Regions from separate parts of the Homo sapiens genome. Here regions 1 and 2 are each linked to region 3. Evidence: promoter capture Hi-C in 16 types of primary human blood cells and fetal thymus (Javierre and others, 2016). All regions are on one chromosome and are shown on one strand. Each heading gives the region's core, a stretch centred on a gene start or on the middle of the fragment in contact. The rest is flanking DNA. Distances are from core to core; before and after follow the strand shown. Region 1 overlaps CEP57 (centrosomal protein 57). Region 2 overlaps CEP57 (centrosomal protein 57). Region 3 holds the start of MAML2 (mastermind like transcriptional coactivator 2).

The links. The method cuts DNA at HindIII sites, captures the fragments that hold promoters and counts their contacts. A CHiCAGO score of 5 or more calls a contact.
Region 1: a fragment that was not itself captured here is called in contact with the fragment with the promoter of MAML2 in region 3 in 2 of 17 cell types (total B cells and fetal thymus); the score reaches 5.3 in total B cells.
Region 2: a contact is called between a fragment that was not itself captured here and the fragment with the promoter of MAML2 in region 3, in 3 of 17 cell types (activated CD4 T cells, fetal thymus and total B cells). The highest score is 5.6, in activated CD4 T cells.

The regions. Positions count from the first base shown.
Region 1 is chr11:95,796,250-95,799,669 of GRCh38, forward strand. It overlaps CEP57 (centrosomal protein 57), which reads left to right. Exons shown (of 11, transcript NM_014679.5): 2 at 2,983-3,139. Among named protein-coding and RNA genes, the nearest start is that of CEP57, 7.5 kb to the left of the region's middle. The HindIII fragment of the contact is 3,381 bases long and covers 228-3,420 here.
Region 2 is chr11:95,826,386-95,829,643 of GRCh38, forward strand. CEP57 (centrosomal protein 57) reads left to right here. Exons shown (of 11, transcript NM_014679.5): 9 at 1,401-1,642; 10 at 2,802-2,946. Among named protein-coding and RNA genes, the nearest start is that of CEP57, 38 kb to the left of the region's middle. The HindIII fragment of the contact is 517 bases long and covers 1,472-1,988 here.
Region 3 is chr11:96,341,804-96,345,220 of GRCh38, forward strand. MAML2 (mastermind like transcriptional coactivator 2) reads right to left here and starts at 1,392. Exons shown (of 5, transcript NM_032427.4): 1 at 1-1,392. The coding sequence starts at 92. RefSeq lists silencers at 9-268, 1,386-1,575. The HindIII fragment of the contact is 8,013 bases long and covers 1-3,417 here.

The DNA.
Region 1 (3,420 bases), core at 668-3,167, 550 kb before region 3:
GATATTTGCCCTAAGAACTAAAGGCTGCAGGAAAAGCTAGTGATCAGGTTAAACATTTTGCCTTTAATCCTGAAAGTTTCTCCTACAATCATATTTTGGTTGGAATAATTTTTACTGAATGCTTAGGGTCATGGAGAGATTAGTGGATTGGGAGTTAGAATTGGGCTCCTTTCTACGCAGCCTTCCTATGATATTTGTGCTATTTGTTAAATATAAAGAAGCCCAAAAGCTTTTGGTGATCTCTTAAAGGGTTGTAGTGATTTTGTTGAAAAGGATAATCTTTTATAAGTAATGTGCAGTTTCCTGTTTTGCGGAGGAAATGTATAGTTAATATTCAACAGATTTATTGAACATAATAAAACTCCTTTATTAGAACTTAATTTCTCCAGCAAAAATTCTACACCAACTGGGTGTACTACAATTATTTTAATTCTGACACTGCCCAGATGTTGCTCAGACCCCCATACATTAAGGGGCTCCGTTTCACAAGACTGCCTGCCCCCAAGTCAGTCAGAGTTCGCAGAGCATCTGCATTTCTGCTCAGCTGACTACAAATTATGGGATTCCTGCAGCTTTCCAAGAACGGCTCACAGTACTCAGGAAAGACTGTTCTTAAGCAATTTCAGTTTTATAAAGGACACAACTCAGAAACAGCCAAATGGAGGAGACATAGGGCAAGGTGTGAAAGGGCTTCTGTATCCTCTGGTGCAGCACCTTCCCAGCATATCAGTATGTTCAACAATCTAGAAGCTCCCCAAACCTCATTATTCAAGAGTTTTCATTGAGCTTTCATTACATAAATACATAATTGAGTAAATTATTGTCCGCTGGTCACTGGGCTCAATCTGTCCCTTACCTCCCCTAAGGTCAGGGCCTAGGGCTGAAATTTGTGACTCTTCCCCCCCACCCCACCCCCCTCCCAACACACACACACACAGACGGAGTCTCACTCTCTTGCCTAGGCTGTAGTGCAGTGGCCCAATCTTGGCTCACCACAACCTCCACCTCCTGGGTTCAAGTGATTCTCCTGCCTTGGCTTCCTGAGTAGTTGGGATTACAGGGCACACCCCCACACTTGACTAATTTCTTTGTATTTTAGTTAGAGACAGAGTTTCACCATGTTGGCCAGGCTGGTCTCGAACTCCTGACCTCAAGTGATCCGCCCAGCTCGGCCTCCCAAAGTGCTGGGATTACAGGCATGAGCCACCATGCCTGGCTGAAATCTGTAGCTCTTTATAATCTAGTGGTTGGTTTTTCTGGCAACCAGCTTCCAGAAGATGCCTTCAAACCTGAAGCTACCTAGGTGCCCTACCTTGAGTCCCTTCATCAGCCTAACAAGGATACCCTATCACTTAAGAAATTCTAGGAGTTTTTGAATCTGTATCTGAAACCAAGGACAAAAGACTAAATATATTTTTTATTATACCACAGGGCATACAGATAATAAAAATGTATATGTCATGAGGAGTGATATAAAATAGTAAAGGGCAAGCCCACTAACATACAAAATGTAGAACAGAGGTAGTTCCATTTGGGGAACTAGTTTGTTAGTTAATCACATAGTTAATGGGATTCCCCTGACTGGGCAGAGGGTGGTCGGCAAGTCACTTAATATTTTTGAATATTAAATGATAGGATTCTGGTGGGTTGTAAATAACCAATGAAAACTTGAGGTTCTCTGTGACATTTAAAATTAAGCTATGCAGTAATTGAGGATGCTTTGCAAGACCTTTGACAATATTATAAAGAATTGAAAACTCATCCTATTTTCCAGTTACCTGTAAAACCAGATGCCAATTTGCCATTAAGTTTGGAAAATGACAAATACTAGTCTTTGTTATATATGAACATACTATAGTAGACTTAGCACTTATTTATTTGAGTACCACTTTTAAGACTTGGCCCTACCCTCCTAAGCTCTTTGTCCCCACTTTTGATTGTCATAGCCATAGTGTGTTTTATATTTATATAAATAGAAAATGTTTTATATTTGCTTTCTTAAATCACCTGGAAATTTGCATGATTTTTAACATGGAAGTAAAATCTTTAATTTTAAATAAGATTTAAATACAGTGCAGGTATTTCGATAGCCTTTGTTTCAGGAGATTGTTTACTGTTTTAAATATTCATTGTGCTCTTGTACTTTTATGAACACGGATTATTCTGGTAAATGTAAATCTTCAAAGGTAAGAATTGAAAAACATAGTTTGCTGTGGCCGTTTGAGGAAGGAAAGTGGATGAACATTTTGAATAGCTGGTAGTCATATCTTCCACCTTAGCCCTCAGCTTCTTAGTTACTTCCCCCAGTCTAGGACCATCTGTCAGTAGGAAGTCGCCTACAACAAATAAAACTCCACAGTTAGCATCTCCTGGGTTGAAATTATTATGTGGAATCCTAAATTTAACAGAATCTCATTCATGACAGAATGGTGTACTGTGGAAATAAAGTTTTATGTTTGAGTGTTTGATGGGCCTTAATGTTTTCTAATTATTTTCTTTTTTGTTAATTAAATGTAAAGTATTTGAGGCAAGGACAGTGCCTTATTTTCTTTCTGGAGTTTTGAATACTATAAATATTCAAGTAGTAGTTTGTGGATGGGGAATAGAGTAATTCAGTCATTTGTAGCAGTTTCTGGTCCTGTAAAAATAATGTTTTTATTTTTCTGAACGTATATTTCACAGTATATATTTTTAACTGCGGTATTTACATTCATTGTATCATTTAAGTATTTCTGCACAGCATTTGTATTCAAGTTGTATGAACATTATTTTCTTCTTGTGTCTGGCATATGGCTATATTCAGACTAATATGAAACACTTTAAAAGTTGTATTTCTTTAATGATTGAATTGTATTGTTTCTAGTCAGTGGATTTTTTCTGTTGTCTGTATGGACAGTCAATCTCAGTCATAAATATTTGTGATTTAAATCTGCTATTTGTGGTTCACACTTTTGAAAGGTAATTTGTGTCTTTATTTTTTAGAACAGCTTTGCTGAGCCATCAAGGTCTAATGGAAGCATGGTTCGGCATTCTTCATCTCCATATGTAGTATATCCTTCGGATAAGCCTTTCCTTAATAGTGATCTACGACGCTCCCCAAGTAAGCCTACACTTGCCTATCCAGAAAGCAACAGCAGAGGTAATCGAGCCTAACGAAATAAATGTTATTTGTGTTTTCTTGCTGCTTTAAAATTCTTAACTTTGTCCTCCATTATTTTGCCATTAGAGGAAAATATATTTCCCCTTTGCTTCCAGTTTCAGCCCCCAGAAAATATTATGCTTTTCTTGTATTCCTTATATTGATTGTTGAACATCATCATCCACCAAATTACTGATGCTAAAACACTTTGAGTCATCAGTGACTGCTCTGTAATCCCCACTATTAGTCCGGAATGAAGACCTTTTTTTGCTTCTGAAATA
Region 2 (3,258 bases), core at 480-2,979, 520 kb before region 3:
TCAGAACCCATGGACACATAGTGGGGAACAACATACACTGGAGCCTGTTTGGTGGGGGAGTTGGTCAACGGGGAGGGAGAGCATCAGGAAGAGTACCTAATGGATGCTGGGGTTAATACCTAGGTGATGGGTTGATCTGTGCAGCAAACCACCATGACACACATTTACCTATATAACAAACCTGCGCATGTACGCCAGAACTTAAAAGTTGAAGGAAAAAAAAATTTCATTATGGCAGAGTTTTGACTACATGGGTGGTCGGTGCCCCTAACCCCTCCATTGTTCAAGGGTCAAGTGCATATTAATATAATCAGAAAAATAACAGAACGAGAATTTTTTAAATTATTGCATATTGAAAGTGTACTCATAGGCAATTAGTATGCTAAATATATATTACAAGTTACGAGCAAAATAGTGGTTACATCGATTGATTTTTGAATAGTGGACCAGCCTTGCATTGATGTAATAAACTCCCACTTGGATGTGATATATAATACTGCTGCATTCACTTTGCTAGCTAACAATAGAAACTAAGATTAGAAGGAAAGCATATGTTTAGCTTAGCATGGTGGTTCCAAATCTGGCTAATCAAAATCAACTGGAGGACTTGAAAACACAAATTTCCAAACCCTAACTCTGCAGTGAGTTTGGTGTGCTGCCTAGGAACCTGCATTTTAAATATGCTTTCTAATAATATTTATGGAGCCAAGTAAGCCCAGCCATCTATTTATAAAGTGGAATAGTACATTGAGATTGTTGGTTTAGTGTTTAAAACAAAAGCAAAATATCTTTGAGAAGTCTATCAGGTTTTTCTTACACACGTGATAGACATGTAATTTAGTGCTTCCTATTATTCCAGGATACAGAAATGAACAATAGTGTCTACCACCTGGATGTACACTGTTTAATAGGTGAAATAGATATGTAAAAGCAATTAAAATATGATAAATGCTATGAGAGAGATGTAAAAAGTGTTATAGGTGATCTGATAATGGACTGATTGATTACCTGGCAGTTTTAAGGAAGCCTTTAAAAATAATATATTTGAACTGGGTTTTAAAGAATGATATAAATGTTGCTAATACACCAAAAAAATGTCATCTGCAAATATGGTTTGTTCACAAAATGGAGAGAAGGGGAGGATGATAGGACATGAGGCTAGGAAATGTAGGTTGCAGCTCAATGATGTGTATGTAGGGCCTTATTTTCCATTCTGAAACATAGTTAGTGGATTTATATCAAAGGATTTCAAATAGAAGAACATCATGATGAGAATAATTTTAGGATTTATATACTCTACTTTAGGGGGTGGAGAGTTCTTTTTACCTAGGCTTAGGGAATAGAAAGTGGTGTAGAGAATATAACTTCAATTACTTCTTTCATCATTTTTCTTCCTTTAGTCCACAAGCCCTAGCCATGCCGTGGTAGCCAATGTTCAGCTTGTCTTGCATCTAATGAAGCAACACAGTAAAGCTTTGTGCAATGATCGAGTCATCAACAGTATTCCTTTGGCAAAGCAAGTATCTTCACGAGGTGGTAAAAGTAAGAAGTTGTCAGTAACACCTCCCTCCTCCAACGGTATTAATGAGGAGTTGTCAGAAGTCTTACAGACTTTACAGGATGAATTTGGGCAAATGAGCTTGTGAGTTTTTGTTTTTTTTTTTAAATTCAGTTTAGCTCTAAAACCTCATTTTTTAAAAACTTGTTGACTTTATTAAATCTTACTTTCCTTTGTTGAGCAAGTATGGTTGAGCACAATCCTTATACCAACCAAGTTACTGGGACTTTAACAAATACAACTAATAAGGGTAAAATCTCTCTCTTTTTAAATACTGTTAAATGTTTTGAAGACCAAGGTTTATATTTAAGTTTTATTTCTTTGAGAACTTATGATATACAGTCATGCATCACTGAATGACAAAGATGTGCTCTGAGAAATACATCATTAGGCGATTTTCTTTTCCTTGTGCTAACATAAGAGTGTGCTAAGCTTATAGCTTATTGCTCCTAGGCTACAAACCTATACAGCATGTTACTCTACTACTAAATACTATATGCAGTTGTAACACAATGGTAAGTATTTGTGTATATAAACATCTAGGTAGAGTAAAAATATGATACTAAAGTCTTACGGGACCACTGTTGTATATGTGGTCTGTTGTTTACTACATCATCATCTGGCACCTGACATCACATTCATTTTAGCTAAACTTAACTGATAAGACATGAGTGTTTGAAGAGCAAGATTCATCTGTAGACTTTACATATACAATACTCTTTTGGGGAAAATAAGAATATAAAGAATTAACCTTGAAATTAAGAACTCTTGCATTTCCCTCTAGTGCCTTTCTTGAACTTTTAAATTCATATTTTTAATTAAAAATTTCTTGATCTAGGCTAGGCATGGTGGCTCACACCTGTAATCCCAGCACTTTGGGAGGCTGAAGTGGGCATATCACATCCTGGCTAACAGGGTGAAAACCTGTCTGTACTAAAAATACAAAAAATTGGCCAGGCATGGTGGCAGGCGCCTGTAGTCCCAGCTACTCGGGAGGCTGAGGCAGGAGAATGGCGTGAACCCGGGAGGCAGAGCTTGCTGTGAGCCGAGATCATGTCACTGCACTCCAGCCTGGGCGACAGAGCAAGACTCCGTCTCAAAAAAAAAAAAAAAATTTATTGCTCTGTTCAAAAAATGGAGTCATTTTTTAAACACATGGAGCAGTAACCCATAATGAGGTATAATAGACCTAACCATGAAACACAGAAAACTTAACCATGTTCTACTTCTGCTTTGTATATAGTGATCACCAGCAGCTTGCAAAACTTATCCAGGAGTCGCCAACCGTTGAACTGAAAGACAAGTTGGAGTGTGAATTGGAGGCATTAGTGGGAAGGATGGAAGCAAAAGCCAACCAAATAACTAAAGTTCGAAAATACCAAGCCCAGGTAACTCAGTTTTCCTTCACTCAAGTTTCTAATGATTAAGAAAAAAAAAACACTTTAATTCAAATATTAAATGATGACACTAAGTGTATCATAGATAAATATCTACAGGAGATACTTCTTTACTGAAGACATTTGTTCATTGAGAATTGGTAAGTGGATTAAGAAAGAAGACACTTTTAGTCACTTAGCATATTCATCTAAGAAACATCTTTCAAATACTGAATATATTTAATATTCTTTATGAATAAGCTTTAACTTCTTTGATGAATTTAAATTGGAGTTTATCCAAGTAAGTTTTTTTAAAAGCACCTG
Region 3 (3,417 bases), core at 142-2,641:
CTCGGGGTGACTGAGCCCCCTCCAAGGAGCCCCGCCCCAGAGGCCCCCCCTAGCCCTCCTGCGGGGGCCTGCGGGGGCGCTGTGTCCCCCATCTTACCGGACACAATGATTGCTGCCTCTGGGATGGTGAGGTGGAAAGAGGCTACTGCTGGCTATTGCAGGCAAGTCTGTTTTTGACAATGTGAGCTCAGTGTTCAGGGCCACATGAATAGAGGTCTTCAGAGGTTGTGGGGGAGCCGTGGAGAAGTTGTGGGGGAGGGGAGTTAGTAAAAAGAGGGTGGGGAGAAAGAATAGAAACCAACTGGGGGGAGGATAAGTTGGAAACAAACCCTGATTAACTTACTCTAATTGCATTTGACAGCTCTGGAGAAGTTGGACAGAGTTGGTGGATTTTTTTTCCTCCACCAAGCTGACAAGAGCCACTAGGTACTTTGTAAACACACGATCTGGGGGTTAGATCAAGAATTCAGGGATTGTCCAGCAAGAGACAGAAACACACAGCAAAAGGTATTGAGAGAGGTATTAATAGAGAGGACTCCCCCTCACCTAGTTGTTTCCGACAATTCTTTATGGGGATGTTTCTGCAGAGAAACACATTTCTACCATGTCTATGTAACCAGCAGCCTTGACTTTTCCTCAGGTTAAATAAAAAACCAAAACAAAACAAAACAGTGCTGTTTCAGAAGATGTTTAAGTCACTGTTCAAAATGTGCAAAAATCAAGGGAGACTGTCTTTTGGCTTTTAATTTTTCCTCCCTTTCCTTTCGCTCCGGTGTTTTCTCCTCTTTGGGGTACTGTAGGATGTTGTCTTCTCCCAAAAGAGGGAGACAGCTTTTCAACTGTTAACAATGTCAGTAATTGGACTTTTGGACCATGCTTTTTTCTTCAGCTAATCCAATCACCGGTAAAATCCTCACTCCCTCTAAGGTTTCCTAGCCTTAAATGAAAAGCAATCTTAAGTCGCTAGCCACTGAGAGAGATCCTTCAACACATTTTTTTCTTTCCCGCTTACGTTTCTATTCCTCACCCCCGGCTCTATTCTAATACAGTATCAAGAGAGACAAACTCTTCCGAGAGTAATTTACAAACGATGGTCAAACTTACAAACTTCCAGCAAATTGCACCGAGTCATGTCCAGCCACTTTTCTGTCCACTTTTGTACATTCCATCCCCGGCCAGTGGATCTGAGGGTCTGGACTCGCAATAAGCAATCTGGTTCTATCTCCTGTATTTGCTCCGCTTTATAGATGGAAAAAAAAAGTAGCTTGTATTTTCCTTTCTCTTTCTCGTCTGTTGTTAGCCGCTTTGCTGACACTGGCTCGCGCCCGGAGTCACGGCGATACACAGGCTTTCATTGTGCTCCGATAGGAGAGGGAGAGAAAGAGAGAGAGTGAGACAGAGAAGGAGAAAGAGAGAGCCAGCAAGCTGCAGATGGGGGTGGGGGGGCGGGGAGAGGGCGGGAGAGCTCGTTCGAGGCTCCCTGGTGGAAGGCTGGTGCCACTGCGCGAGTGAGTAATCGCAGCCAGGCACCGGGGAAAGGGGAACGCAGAGGGCCTCCCAGTGGCTGAAGAGGTAAATCCCAAGCCCTGCGCATCTCAGCTGCCCTGGCTCAGCTCAGCATCAGACTCGGTTAAGCGGGGAAGGCTGGGGAAATTCCCCAACCTCTACACAACCATTTCACCAGCTCTAAATGTTTAAGAAATTCCGGGCCAGGAATGTGTTTTCCCTTTCAGCCCTACATTACGCCCCGCTGAGGATATCATTTTCATTTTTCAGTATATTGTAAATGACACCACTGAGCAACCTAGCACGAGCTGTGTGAGCACCGAGGAAATGTTCATTAATAGAATAAGGAAGATATGAATGTGTGTGTTGAGGGCGGAAGGGGTTGCGCGTGGAGAGGAGAGGTAATCACATTGTTAGCTCCTAAAGGGCAGGCAGGTGTAGCGTTTGTCTACCTGCCTGCCCATTTGTGTGTCTCTGGATAAGTGAGTCTGGGTGATCACAGGCAAATCAGTTGGGATAAATAAAATATTTTATGAGAATGATACAATTATCGATACCAGTTCTAGAAAAAAACGCTTTTTTTTTGGGAATGCATGATTGCCTATGAAAAACCAAATATAAGACCTGAAGTATCCTTAGCTACCTGGTGCACATATACAATGAGGAAAGTCAATGTGTAGCAGCTGAGTTTCAAAAAGTTTTTTTTTTTTTTTTCTTTTAATGGAGTCTTGTTATGTTGCCCAGGCTGGAGTTGAACTCCTGGGCTCAAGTGATCCTCCCACTTGAGCCTCCTGAGTAGCTGGAACTACAGGTACTCACCACTACTGCACCTGGCTCTGAGTTTCAAGAAGTTTAATAATAGAAACCAAATAGATCTCACACAGATCATTGTTCCCCCATTTTCAAGTGATCCAACCTTTAAAATATCCAATCCTGGCCAGGCACAGTGGCTCACGCCTGTAATCCCAGCACTTTGGGAGGCCAAGGCAGGTGTATTACCTGAGTTCAAGAGTTCAAGACCAGCCTGGCCAATATGGTGAAACCCCGTCTCTGCTAAAACTACAAAAATTAGCTGAGCATGGTGTCATACGCCTGTAATCCCAGCTACTCGGGAGGCTGAGACAGGATAATTGCTGGAACCCAGGAGGCGGAGGTCGCAGTGAGCTAAGATCACGCCACTGCGCTCCAACCTGGGCAACAGGGTGAGTCTCTGTCTCCAAAAAAAAAAAAAAAACTTATTGTGGATTCTGCTTATTTTCAATTATGAAGATTAAATTAAGGTGAGCATAATACTGCAACAGTCAGGACCAAAAATATTCTGGGTATCCTAATTTGGAAGTCATTTGGATTTGAGGTCTCAAATAATATACCTTCAGTAATCTAAACAAACTCTGGCATTTCACGAATATGGTCGTTTCAAACTGAGCTATGGATAGAAATAGGCAAAATCAAGGCAAACATCTCAATACTGGATTTATTTGCAATTTAGTTCCCTATAGGATAGCCTACTTTAGTCCATTTTATTTTCACCAATCCTGTTAGCTTGGAAATGGGGACAAATACACTCAGATTTTTTGTTTGTTTTATAATTTCTTTTATTTCTTTTTTTAAATTTTATTATTATTATACTTTAAGTTTTAGGGTACATGTTCACAACGTGCAGGTTTGTTACATATGTATACATGTGCCATGCTGGTGTGCTGCACCCATGAACTCGTTATTTAGCATTAGGCATATCTCCTAATGCTATCTCTCCCCCCTCACCCCACCCCACAACAGTCCCCAGAGTGTGATGTTCCCCTTCCTGTGTCCATGTGATCTCATTGTTCAATTCCCACCTATGAGTGAGAACATGCGGTGTTTGTTTCTTCGTCCTTGTGATAGTTTGCTGAGAATGATGGTTTCCAGCTT